Regions from separate parts of the Homo sapiens genome. Here region 2 is linked to region 1. The links are contacts of gene promoters, found by promoter capture Hi-C in blood cells and fetal thymus (Javierre and others, 2016). All regions are on one chromosome and are shown on one strand. Each heading gives the region's core, a stretch centred on a gene start or on the middle of the fragment in contact. The rest is flanking DNA. Distances are from core to core; before and after follow the strand shown.

Region 1 (7,402 bases), core at 2,258-4,757:
TTCATTAGCATCAAGAAAATGAAATAGACACAATCTAGCAAAATATGGGCAGGGTCTATGTGAGAAAAACTATAAAATCTGTTGAAAGGGATTAAAGATCTAAATAAATGAAGGGACATCTGTATTCACAAAATAAGACCCAGTGTTGTTAAGATGTCAGTTCTCTTCAGTGTGATTTACAAATTCATTACAACTCTCGTGAAAACATGAATAAATTATTGTGTGGAAATTGACAAACTAATTCTAAAGTTTATATAGAAAGACAAACTAACAAGAATAGCCAACAATATTGTGGGGGAGGAACAAAGTTCAAGGACTTGCAAAGTGATCAACGGAACAGAATAGAGAACTCAGAAATAAGAGTGCACAAACACAGTCAATTGATCTTTTACAAAAAGGTAAAGGCAATTCAAGGGAGAAAGGGTAGCTTTTTCAAAAACAGTGATGAATACATTGCGTGTATGTATATATACATATATGCAAAAAAAAAAAGAATTGAGACACAGACCTTGCTCCTCAAAAATTAACTCGAACGACACATTTTTAAGTTAATAATATTTTAAATTGTCAAACCACAATTGCATACATTTATGGGGTACAATGTGATGCTTGGATATGTGTATAAAATGAGGAATGACTACATCGAGGATAAAATATCCATCACCTCATGGCGTGAACCCAGGAGGCGGAGCTTGCAGTGAGCCGAGACCCTGCCACTGCAGTCCGGCCTGGGCGAAAGAGCGAGACTCTGTCTCAAAAAAATAAATAAATAAACAAATAAATAAATAAAATAAAAAATACCCATCACCTCAATTTTATTTTTTGTGGTTAGATATTTGAAATTTACTTTTTGTTATTTAAATATACAGTACATTATTATTGACTATAGTCATCCTGCTGTGCAATAGATTTCAAAACGCATTTCTCCGGTTTAACTGAATCTTTGCATCTGTGAACAACTTCCCATTTTTCTCCCCAGCAACACAGCCTCTGGTAAGCATCATTATACTCTCTACTTTTATGAATTCAATTTTTAGACCTAAATTTAAATCCAAAAGCTGTAAAACTTCTGTAAAATAACAAAAGGGATATTTAGGTAACTTTGGGTTTGGCAATTACTTTGTAGATACAACAGTAAAGTACATAAAAGACAAATTTCTACCATGAAAGAAGATATTGGTATGAAGTCGTTACAATTAAAAACTTTTGCTCTGGGAAAGGAAATAAGAGAATGGAGAAACAAGCCACAGACGGAGAAAATATTTGCAAAACACCTGTCTGGCATCCAGACCATTAAAAACCACTTACAACTCAACAATAAGAAATCGAACAACCCAATTAGTAAATGGACGAAAGATCTAAAGAGGCTCCCATCAGAGATGGCATATAGAAGGGGAAAAGCTTATGAAAAGATGTTTGCCCTCCCAACGCTTTTCCCTCCCTGCGTCCCTCTCCCTCACACACCCTCCGCTGCAGCGGAGTGGGAGCGGGTCAGGGGCGCTAGGCGGTGACGGTGACGGTGACGTGCTGTCTCTCGGGCGAGGCGTGGGATTTAAGCGCATTATAAGCCGTGGGTCCCGGGGAATCCGAGAGGCTGAGCTTGGAGCCCAGACTGACCCGCCTCTCTCATGGTCCCGGCCCACTGCCCTGCAGAGCCCGCCTTACTCTTCCTCTCCACAGGTCTGCTGTGGCTCCACCAAGCCTGGTAGGCCCACAAGGAGCTGCATCCAGCAGGAGCCGCCGCCCGGGAACAAGCTACCCGCGGGCTCTGGGGACAACCGCCCGTCTGATGAGCTCGGCTGAGCGTGCACGCAATGTCGAAATCAAGGACGCCTGGATGCTTTTCATGGCAGAGTGACAAAAGTTTACCAACAAGAAGAGGAGCAGGGCTGCTGAAAGGTGCGGTGCCGCGGCGCCAGAATGCGGGATCCTGAGCCCTGCATGCGAGTCTTCGCGGGGCCGATCGCTGCGAGCCTCGCTTAGGTCCAGCCGCCTCCAGGGAGGGCAATATCCACGAGACGCGGGGAGTGAGGGCGGTGCTGGCCGCACCCCTGGTCCTGGGGCCGCGGGAGCCGTGCTAGCAGGCCGCCTTCCACTGCCGCCTGCGCCGGGTCGGGTTGCTGCAGCGGTGCCCGCTGCAGGAGCTCCGCGCCTGCTGCTTCTCCGACGTCAGGGCGCCGCCAGGATGACAGGTGCAGGAGGCTGCGGCTGTGGGCAGATGTGGTTTCCAGCCCCAGGTCCCGGCGGCCCCTGGCTTCCCAGCCCGCTGTCCTGTGGGCAAGAAGATGAAGAAAGTCACCCCATCAGCAGGTCAGCTGCCCCGCCTGGCAGCCCAGCCAGACAAGGCAACCGAAGTTCATCCTGTCTGAGTTGACTTTGTGCAGGCAGCGGGCCGGCGCCCAGGATGCTGGGGAGCCCTGCGCGCCGGAGGCCGACAAGCCGTGGGGCCCAGAGGCGCCACAGGGCGAGAAGGCACCCGCCTCCCAGCGCTTTCACCCCCCGGCCCGCCCGACCCGCTAGGTGTAGCAGTGGCTGCGGCCAAGCCAGGCATTCTGCCCGGCGGCGGCTGCACAGGGGCGAAAACTGAGAACCCCTGCTCAACCCCATCCGGAGTGACTGCCAAGTGCCCATGCCAGCGACCCCGATCCCCCTCCGGTGGAGGAATGGGCGGGAGGCACGGCCTGGGGGCCCTCAGGCTGGGCGCGCTGGCGATCCCGAGGCCGACCAGGCCATGCACCTCCAGCCCGCCTGGGCACCCAAGCTGCATCCGCCTTCTGTGTGCAGGCAGCAGCCTCCAGGCAACCCCCGAGCCCGCCAGCACTCCCCACATCTCAGAACCGGGGCCAGATGTCCCTGTGGCTGCGGCTGAGCTAGGTGGTCTGCCCTGCAGCGGGAACCGGCTCTCAGCCCCATTCCCCGTGGCTGCAGAGGGCCACTGGCTAGAGGTCCCGAGCTTCAGCAGACGAGGAGCCGAGCAGGGGCAGGGCCTGGCGGGCTCTCAGGCCAGGTGCACTCGCGATCCAGAGGCCGCCTAGGCCGTGCTCCACCACCTGGGCGCCCAAGCTGCAGGCGCCCTCTACCTGCTGGCGACAGCTGCCTGGCAACTCCCAAGATGGCTGGCGCTCCCAGCCTGGCAGAACCGGGGCTACATGTCGCCCTGGCTGCGGCCAAGCCAGGCGGTCTACCCGGCGGCGGCTGCACCGGGACAGGAACCGACCCCCCAGTCCCATCCCCGGTGGCTGCGGAGGGCCCCTGTCAGCGGCCCCGATCTCTCTTCGGAGGAGGAGCGGGTCGGGAGTCAGGGCCAGGCAGGCCCTCAGGCGGGAAGGGATGCACTCCTGGGATTCCGGGACGTCCCGCGGGAGCCCAGGAGAACCCGCAAGCCAGCGACGCGTGCGCCCGTGCTGCAGGTGCCCCCTGCCGGCCACGAGGGCTTGGGAGCGGCTTCCGGAGTCCCGGCTGGCGCTGAGTTGTAGGCGCGCGCCTAACTGGCATCGCGGGGACTCACTCGGTCTGAGAGTTCGGAGCGCTGAGGTTCAGGCGCGCGCCTAACGGCTTAGCTGGGCTCACTCGGTCTGAGAGGTCGGAGTCTGCGAGTGTCGCTGCTGAAGGCTGTGGTGGACCGGGCTGGATCGCGGATTCTGAGCTACATTGCGGGTTTGGGGGTGGATCTTGGATTTGGGGGTGGATCGCGGGTTGCGGGGGGGATCGCGGGTTGCGGGGGAGATCGCGGATTTGGGGCGGAGTGGGGGTGGAAAGGCCACGAGGAGCCGCCGCGGCTCAGGAGCGGGTGGTGGGCGTCTGAGAAGTCGCCACCATGAGGAAGCTCTTCAGCTTCGGGAGACGCCTGGGCCAGGCGCTCCTGAGCTCCATGGACCAAGAGTATGCGGGTCCGGGTTACGACATTCGGGACTGGGAACTGCGGAAGATCCACAGGGCTGCCATCAAGGGCGACGCCGCGGAGGTGGAGCGCTGCCTGACGCGCAGGTTCCGGGACTTGGACGCCCGCGACAGAAAAGACAGGTAGCTCGGGGACTCAGCCCGCGGTGGGAGGGGGCCGCAGGCCCGGCTTCCCTGCAGCCCGGCAGCCCCTGGGGCGGGGACCTTGGAGGGCGCCGGGCACCCTCGGAGCAGCGGAGCCAAATGGAGCCTCAGCTGCTTTCCGTCGCTGGCAATTCCCCGTCCGTCGCGCTTGGTGGAAAATTTGAGTGATTTAACTCACAAAGTTAGGCATATCCACGTTTAAAACATGGGGCCATATACATGATAGGGAGGTGCCTAATGAGAACTCATTCCCCTGTCAAAAATACCATGAGCCTTTTTCAGTAGGCGAAGAGTTCTCAGATAAAACCCTGTGTCGGTTTTACATCCGAATCCACCTAGGTAGACAGGTTCTTTACTGGAGCTTCTTAGAGGGACACTGGGAAGCGCGAGGTGGGTTCCTTGAATGGGAAGACTCAGTTTTCTCAAAATATGAACTGTTTCCATGTTTATCAGTTTTACATAAACTGAATGAAGATATCAAGGTTTTATCATTTTTGCATGACACTTGCTATCTATCTTACCATTGTGATGACATTTAAAAATGTTTATAATGGAGTGAAAAGACTTGCTCCTCTAGATATCAAAATGTGCTATTAATTCCCACAATTAATTATTTACTAACAGCTGAAAACACAGATAAATAAATGGAACAGAACAGGAAATCCAAAAACACTGAAATATATGTAAGATATATACATAGGGATGGATAATGGTAACGTTTCAGATGAGTAGGAAAAGATGAGTTATTAATAAAATGCCTGCTGTGTGAAGAAAACTAATGAAACTTTATGTCGCAAAAATGGGTTCCTGATGGAATTCAGACTGAAATTTTTACACATGCAAAATGAGAAAAAGTACCAGAAGAAAACGCAAAGACTTATTTATACAGGTACATTTTATGTTAACAAAGGCCTTCGTAAGAATGACCTCGCAAGCAGGCATTCTGAAAGTTGATTTAGCAAACTAAAAATTAAAATCCCCTGTGTATCAGAAAAAAATTAACAAAAGATAACACACTCGAAAAATATTTCCTATATATATTTTTACTAATATATAAAAATATATATTCAGATGAAAAGTGTATCTTCATCCTACAGGGAATTTATTCTTTATTATATATAATACATATTACTGATTATATGTATAAGAAATTGTATATATTACTAATATAATGTGTTATATATATATATCAGTTATATATATACAGATAAAAAGCACATCTTTATTTTACAGGGAATTCTTTCCAATCAAATCCACAAGAAAAGAACTCTAGAAGTGAGCAAAGCACTTTTTGCAGATTCACAAGTTACTTATGTACATAGGAAAAAATCCTTAGTGTTTCTCATAAGATAAGTTAAAAGAGGAGTGAGACTGTGTTCTATCCACAGTGTTTGTGAGAATGAAGAGCAGTGGCACTTACACTGCTGCTTGAAGTTTAAGTTGCTGATGACTTTTCAAGTGGATAATTTGGAGATAATTACCACATTTTAAAAATGTATATGCCCTTTACCCATCAATTCCATTGTATTAAAATACCTTCAGAAAATAGAGATACATGCACTTTTTTTCCCCAGCATTTATGTTAACAAGAACCCATAGAATGGTATGTGGCCATTGAAGGTGGCAATAGGTGGAGAAGTATGTTGATATGTGAAGATGCATTTTGTTACAGCCAGTGAGGAAAAACAAATCAGTTTGCTTGCACATACACACAAACATACTATGGTCTGGTGTTAGGCAATACTATGCACAAAATAGGATAAAATTTGTAACTTCTGAGCATTTGTATTTTAAAGTTTTTTGTTCCTTTTTCTTACCTTTGATTTCTGAAGTGAGCATTTATAAAATTTCTAGTAAAAATTTATTATTAATGGAATAAATTTTGGGAAGAGAAATATGACTCTTGAACAGATAAAAATAATTTCTCACTATTTTTTATCATTATTATTGTGAGGGTTTGAACTTTTAGCTTCTTCAGAAGTAAAAAGGGAATCTTTTTATCTGTGCTTGCAGATTTTATGTATATACTTTATTATGTATATATGTTTTTCTTATGTATAGATTCATTACATATAGGCAAACAATGATAGATTAATCATTTCATTATAGTTGTAGTCTTATCAAAATAACAAATAGCAAATATTATTACTATCACAAAAATATTGGTTTATAGAAGTTGTATTTAAAAATATTGAGCTCCCCAACTGTATTCTATCAATCCATTTATTCATCAAACATAACTCGAATATGTTATGTAGCAAACATTTTGCACTATCTCTCAGGACCCTTCCATACTTAAAAACTTTATGTTTACCTGTTCTGCCTGAGCAAGATGAGAGATTTAAAATAGGAATAGTAGAACTTAATCTCACTGAAGCTTTTCCTCCCACCTTTCAAGCAAAAGCCTTTCTGAAGGTAGAAAACAATAAGAGATAACCTTTAACTGCCCTTTTGAAAATTTATCAGTCTTAAATACTAATATTAATCATTGGAAAGTCTGATTTGCATATATTCTGTAAATCTAAGTGTTGACTAAAATGAGCCATACCTGTTCATCTCAATCATGAGTTTCCTTTAGCTTCACGTTTCTTTTTGTTTGTTTGTTTGTTTTTTCGTTTTGCGACAGAGTCTCACTCTGTCGCCTATGCTGGAGTGCAGTGGCGTGATCTCAGCTCACTGCAACCTCTGCTGCCAAGGTTCAAGTGATTATCCTGCCTCAGCCTCCCGAGTAGCTGGGATTACAGGTGCCTGCCACCGCACCCAGCTAATTTTTGTAGTTTTAGTAGAGACAGAGTTTCACTATGTTGGCCAGGCTGGTCCTGAACTCCTGACCTAGAGATCCACCTGCCTCGGCCTCCCAAAGTGCTGGGATCACAGGCGTGAGCCACTGGGCCCGGCCAGCTTCCCATTTTTAAAAATCAAAGTAAGAAGTAATTTGTTTAAAAAATATGTTGTTATTTCAGTGCTCTTTCCCCATGGTACTTTGAGGAATTAAAATGTATTTAAGTGTCAATTAGATTCCTAGAATTGCCCTAGACCTGCTGTGTATACAGTATTCTACTTAATGTAAGACCTCATGGATTGTGTGATACCCTACTATTTTCTATATTAATAAGATGATTTTTAAATGCTACCAATTATAAATGCTACCATATAAAAATTATGAATTATAAATACCACTCCAATATCAGATATGCTAAAATGTGACCTAATCTTTAAATCATCCTGCAAAATAGCAATAATTGTATCATTTTACTTAATTAAAATATTTTTGTTAAATACTAGTAATATAATTATAACATCTGGCTGAGTGCATGGCTCACACCTGTCATTCCAGAACTTTGGAAGGCTGAGGTGG
Region 2 (5,293 bases), core at 1,915-4,414, 230 kb after region 1:
CAGCTGGTTGTAGGGGATGTCTGGGTTCAGAATGGGGCTTGGGAGGGCTGCTGCCGAGGAGTAGCGGGCGGTCCTGCCCTGGAGGCTAAGCAGCCGGGGTGCCAGGAAGCGCAGCATGCTGACACTCTGGAGAGGGACAAAAGAAACCAGGGTGAACAGGTGGGAGAAGGCAGGTGGCGGTACCCAAGGGCCCACCAGCTCAAACATTTCAAGATTCCAGCATAAAGGACTGTCACCTCTAAAAACACAGACTGTAAGAGCTGTGAGGGCCCTGATGAACTCTCTGGGCCAACTCCATCACGTCCCGCCTATCCTCAGCTCACTCCCTCACCTCTGCTGGGTCTCAAAAGCCACTGTCTCAGCAAGGCCTTCCCTGACCACCCTTTAAAAAATTGCAACCCTTCCCACCCCAACACTCTCTATCCCCGCTACCCTGCTTTACTCCTTCTCTATCTCACATCCCAAATACTATCTTTACAGGCTTATATGTTTGTCTGTCTCCCCCCAGTAAAATGCAAGCTCCATGAGCACAGGAACTTATTTTTCTGTTCCATTCACTGCTACGTCCCCGAGCCTAGAGGTATGCCTGCTACAGAGCAGCGGCTCAACACACAGTACTGAATGATACACTGAGAAAACACTGAAATTGCCACAAAGGCTGTCTAAGAATTGACCTAAGACTTGAGTAGAAATCAAAGGGACTTGGAGATGGTTGTTCTCTGAGAGGGACTTGCTTCATTTCACCTCTGTGCCTCAGTTCCCCCATATGTGAAATGCCTCATGGGGTTATGTTGAATGATGTCTTGCATATAAAAACCCTGGCAAGCTCCACTCAGGACATCAGAACTGGCCGTGCCTCAGAAATTGACCTAGCCCAGCATCCCCCAACCACAGGTCTCAGCATCCCTTTTCAGCTTTCCCAGAGGTGCAGCAAGTCAGGAGGCAGCTGAGAAGAAAAGCTACAACTCTGAAGAGTGTAGACTTCGTTAAAACAACTACTGTTATAAAACTTAAACGGCATATAATACATATTAAATGAAAATTAAACAGAGTGTAGTGTTCCCAGATTAGTTGAAGCAGTTATTCTTCAGTCAGAATTTGAATCTCTCTGCCTTTGATGTCTCATGAGTCTTGCTCCGCCCAGCGGTAAAATGGAATTGCACCTGCCTGTCCCTTCACCCCCAGCCTCTCACCCTCCACCCCTGGGCAGGGAGAGGAACAAAAAACTCAATCAGGAAAGCAAGGCTCCATGTAGGTCCCCGGCCCCATAAAAATCAATGTGATGGGCGTGGTGGCTTACGCTGGTAACGCTTTGGTAGGCCGAAGTGGAAGGACTGCTTGAGGCCAGGAGTTTGAGACCAGCCTGAGCACATAGCAAGAACCGTGTCTCTACAAAAAAACAAAAATAAATTTGCCGAGCATAGTGGTGCATGCCTGTAGTTCTAGCTGCTTGGGAGGCTGAGGTGGGGGCAATCACCTGAGCCCAGGAGGTTGAGGCTGCAGTGAGCCATGATTGTGCCACTGCACTCCAGCCTGGGTAACAGAACAAGACTGTATCTAAAAAAAATAATAATAATCAATGCTGACCAAGAAAGTTTCCCTTCCCCTTGCGGGTGTTAGGAATAATGCTCAAAATCCTAAGGAAATTGAACACTCGAACACAGGATTCTTAGCAAAGCAATTTTACTTCTGCGCAGAGGGATGCCTCCTTGGCCAGTTGCCATGAGAGCACACCTGAACAAAGGGGCACGAGAGCCTTTATTCCTGATGCAAGTCCTGCCCCTGTACCCTTTCCCCATTGGCTGGGGTCAGGTCGTACAATCTAAACTAATCCCGGTTGGCTAAACATTTGATTTATTTTAGATAGAGTGGGCACGTAAAAGAAAGTGGAGAGAAAGGGGAAAGGGTGTCTGTAATGAGCTAGAAAGTTAGTCTTCTTTCCAAATAAGCAAAGGAATGTGAGCTGGTACTGATAACGCTTGGTACTGTGGCATGCCTGGGCATCTAACAAAGGCAAAAAGGAGAAAAATGAAAAAAAAAAAGGGGGGGATACTAAGAATTAAAGAATAAAAGATTGATCAGATTATTTGAAGAGAAACCTCATCATATCCCACAGGGGGAAGCTGAGTCAGCAGATCTGCCAGGGGTGCCCAGGGTTCCATTTAGCTCAGGACTTTGCCATATGCTGGGACACAGCCCCCTTGCCACCAACAGGCCTGGCTCTGAGGGTGAGGAGACCAAAAGGAGGTAGGGGAAAGGGGAGTCACCAACCCATGGGGTAAGGATTGGAGGGGTGAAGCAGTCAGGAGAGGTGGTCATAGGCCAAGGCTGGCAAACCTTTGCAGCCACACCAAGGCCGTTCCTACTCTTGGGGCCTATATGGGGTTCTTGCTGGGGCCTCCACTTGCTGATAGGAAGATCACAGCTCACAGAGCATCATGCTTTACAGTTTGCAGGCTGTCTTCTCACGGGAAATTTGCCAAGCCTCTCTGCAGTCCCTGGGTGGTCAGGGTTGATGATGACCCCCATTCTGGAAGAAGGCTGGGCATCAGAGAGGTTCAGGGACTCACCGAGGACACACAGCAAGAAAGTATAGGAGCCTCACCCCAGACTTCCACAAACCTAGCTTTGCATATCCTCCTGAATACAGGCAATTTTTTACAGTTCACCCACAGCGGGAAGGACCGGACCTTCTCTATCCGCGGGAACTGCAGCGGCGCCCACCTCACCCCTTCTGCGGGGGAAAGGGCGCAACCTTTGGGCTTGTCCAAGCCTCTGGGCTATGGTCAGGGGCCCTCTGTTGAAGTGGGCCGAGTGGGCAGGAGTGTTGAGGTCGAGCTAACGTGGTAAGGTCTGGGGGCGTCTGTGTCCTCGGGGCTCCTGTAGCGTCACCCAGAGGCGGGGGATGGGATTAGGGGACGTGGAGAGAGTCCTACAGTGCAACGGCGGAAAGGCCAGCCCCCAGATGCGGACGCCGCGGCCCAGAGAGGAAAGCCCCCACGCGGAGCCAGGAGCTGCGGCTTCCCGAGGGAGCCGAGGGGAGACCAGCGTTAGTTACCTGCAGCAGGCTCGGGCTCCGGTTCAGGATCACGCTTGGGTTCTGGTTCCGGCCCTCCCAGCTCTGTCCACATGGCCGCCCAGGGCTGGCCGCAGGTCCCGCCTCCGCGCAGCCCGGGGCTCAGCGGCCAATGAGGCTCCGCCTGCGCCTGGGGCGCTGCCTACGTCCTGTCGCCGGCCAAGGCCGCTCCTCCCTCGCCCCGCCCGGTCTTTCCCGGTCCCCGCCCCTCTACCCCCGGCAGCCCGCACCGCTTCAGCGCTCCCTCCCTCGGGTCTCCGCAAGCCCAGTGTCCACGTTGCTCAGATCTAGGCTCCTAAGGCACTGGTTTGGGAGCGGAAACAGAGATACCCAGAGAGGGGCAGGGGCTTCCCCAGGTCACACAGCAAAGTTTTCGGAGACCGAACCCCAACTACACTTTGCATTTCTCCCCGCTGCAAGACGCTGCTTAATCGACTGCCATCCTTGAGACTCCCCTTAACCCCTTCTCTGCCTCGCCTCTCCCTCACTTTTTTTGTCCAGGATTCACTAATTTCTGTCCTCCACTTTCACTGCTCCTTTCTTCAGTTCCTTCAAGAAGATTTTATATTTGGGCATTTTTCAAAGTACATTTTTGTCCTAAGGACAAAAAGAATGTATGCACAGTGTAGAAAGCTTGGAAAACACAGGAAAGGATGAAAAAAGAAGAAAAATATCACCTGTAATCTCTTCACCTACGGTAGCCATTATTACGGTGTTCGTCCTGCTAGTATTGTTTCCTCTGCATCTTTCAAAATTATTTTAATAAAAATAAAATCATATAGTAACCTCTGTTGTGCTGCTTTAAAAAAAATTTAAAAACTTAGCGCTGTATTTTGAAGTTTTCTCCTATCACTAATTACAGATGACATCATCCTCTCCAAGGTGGCATAGAATTCTGTTGTAGGGGTAAACTGTTGGACATTTAATTGTCTCCATTTTGTTGCTATAAAGGTTGCCAAGATGGACCACTGAACATGCATCTCACTCGCTCCACCCTCGCTGCACCTTCCTTCTGGCTAGGGAGGTCCCAAAGCTAACCGCCATGTTTCCCAGCCTCATTTGCAGTTAGAGTTCTGGATGTGGACTAGGTGCTGCCAATTAGTAGTACTCTGCCGGATGTGGAAGGCGGGCACGCATTGGAGGGTATTGTCCTGCCCCTGTAGGGTGGCACTAGCAGGATAGCAGAAATGGGAGATGTTCTGCGGCAGCATTCCTTGTCCCTTCTCCAGCTTTCTGGCTGTGGACCGGCCGCTGTGGCTGTAGCCGCTCCTTGACCTGGCTTCCTGCTCTTTGAATGGAGGCTGCAGGAGGGTGTCTGAAGTAGCCTCAGACAGGCACGAGGCTGGTGGGCCACGTCCATATTGTCCTGAGAGTTGGTCCTGGTCTGGCTAAGGCTTGCTTCTGCCTCCGGCACTTGCAGCAGGTCTGTAAGCACCCAGTTCCTTGTATTAAATCCCTGCCTCTCCACTGATCTAGGGTGCTCACATGCGACTGCTTGGACCTAATTCACTTAGTTCTTTCCTTAAGCTACATCTCTATGGAATCTTTTGCTACCATATCATCCTTAGCATGTTCACAGCCCTTGCTGCAAAAGTTAGCCATCCATGAAGGCACTATGATTGGCATCTTATCACCTTGATGCCCATGCTTTCCTCGGGTTTCTCCAGCAACGGCATGAGCCCCTTGCCAAGGCCCTCCTGCCTCCCCCACAGCACGTGGACAGCCTAGCTCCCCTTGGGCACTTGGCATAGCACTCCAGGACTGATTGACTTAATGATTAACTGACCAATCCTTAAGAGGCCTCATTGATAGAGGGAGTGAGTTTATGGCAAAATGAGTATCAGTCCTCGTGTTAGAGTGCATTGGAAACTGTGGCAGGTCTGAGAGGCCAGCTGCAGACAGGAAGTGACCCCCATGCGGCAAGGTTGGAGGCTGTGCCCCTTGAGGAGCAGCTGAAGGAACTGGGATGTTCACCCTTTAGAACTTGAAAGACAAGGCTGTGCCGTCCAAATCTCTGAAGGGCAAAACCAGATAGGATCTGTGGGGTCCTAGAAGGCAGAGCCAGACCAGTGAAGAATACAGAGGAATAACTCCCAGAAAAAGCAGAACTGGCTAAGGCTGGGAGGGGCTCCCTTGAAAGGCAGTGGGCCTCCCATCACTGGAGGAGTACAGGGAAGGACAGATAACCATGTGGCAAAATCCTAGTTCAGATAAGAA

What was found. Contacts are between HindIII fragments. The CHiCAGO score rates a contact against its expected background, and 5 or more counts as called.
Region 2: a contact is called between the fragment with the promoter of ALDH1B1 here and the fragment with the promoter of ANKRD18A in region 1, in 10 of 17 cell types (total CD4 T cells, non-activated CD4 T cells, total CD8 T cells and 7 more). The highest score is 10.1, in total CD4 T cells.

Annotation. Positions count from the first base shown.
Region 1 is chr9:38,616,701-38,624,102 of GRCh38, reverse strand. It overlaps ANKRD18A (ankyrin repeat domain 18A), which reads left to right and starts at 3,507. Exons shown (of 16, transcript NM_147195.4): 1 at 3,507-4,023. The coding sequence starts at 3,818. FAM201A (family with sequence similarity 201 member A) reads right to left here and starts at 3,015. Exons shown (of 2, transcript NR_027294.1): 1 at 2,738-3,015; 2 at 819-2,271. RefSeq lists enhancers at 1,880-2,089, 2,742-2,861. The HindIII fragment of the contact is 5,020 bases long and covers 1,404-6,423 here.
Region 2 is chr9:38,390,573-38,395,865 of GRCh38, reverse strand. ALDH1B1 (aldehyde dehydrogenase 1 family member B1) reads right to left here and starts at 3,164. Exons shown (of 2, transcript NM_000692.5): 1 at 3,059-3,164; 2 at 1-126. The coding sequence starts at 117. RefSeq lists enhancers at 2,688-2,777, 2,818-2,867 and a silencer at 3,078-3,397. The HindIII fragment of the contact is 5,526 bases long and covers 1-3,711 here.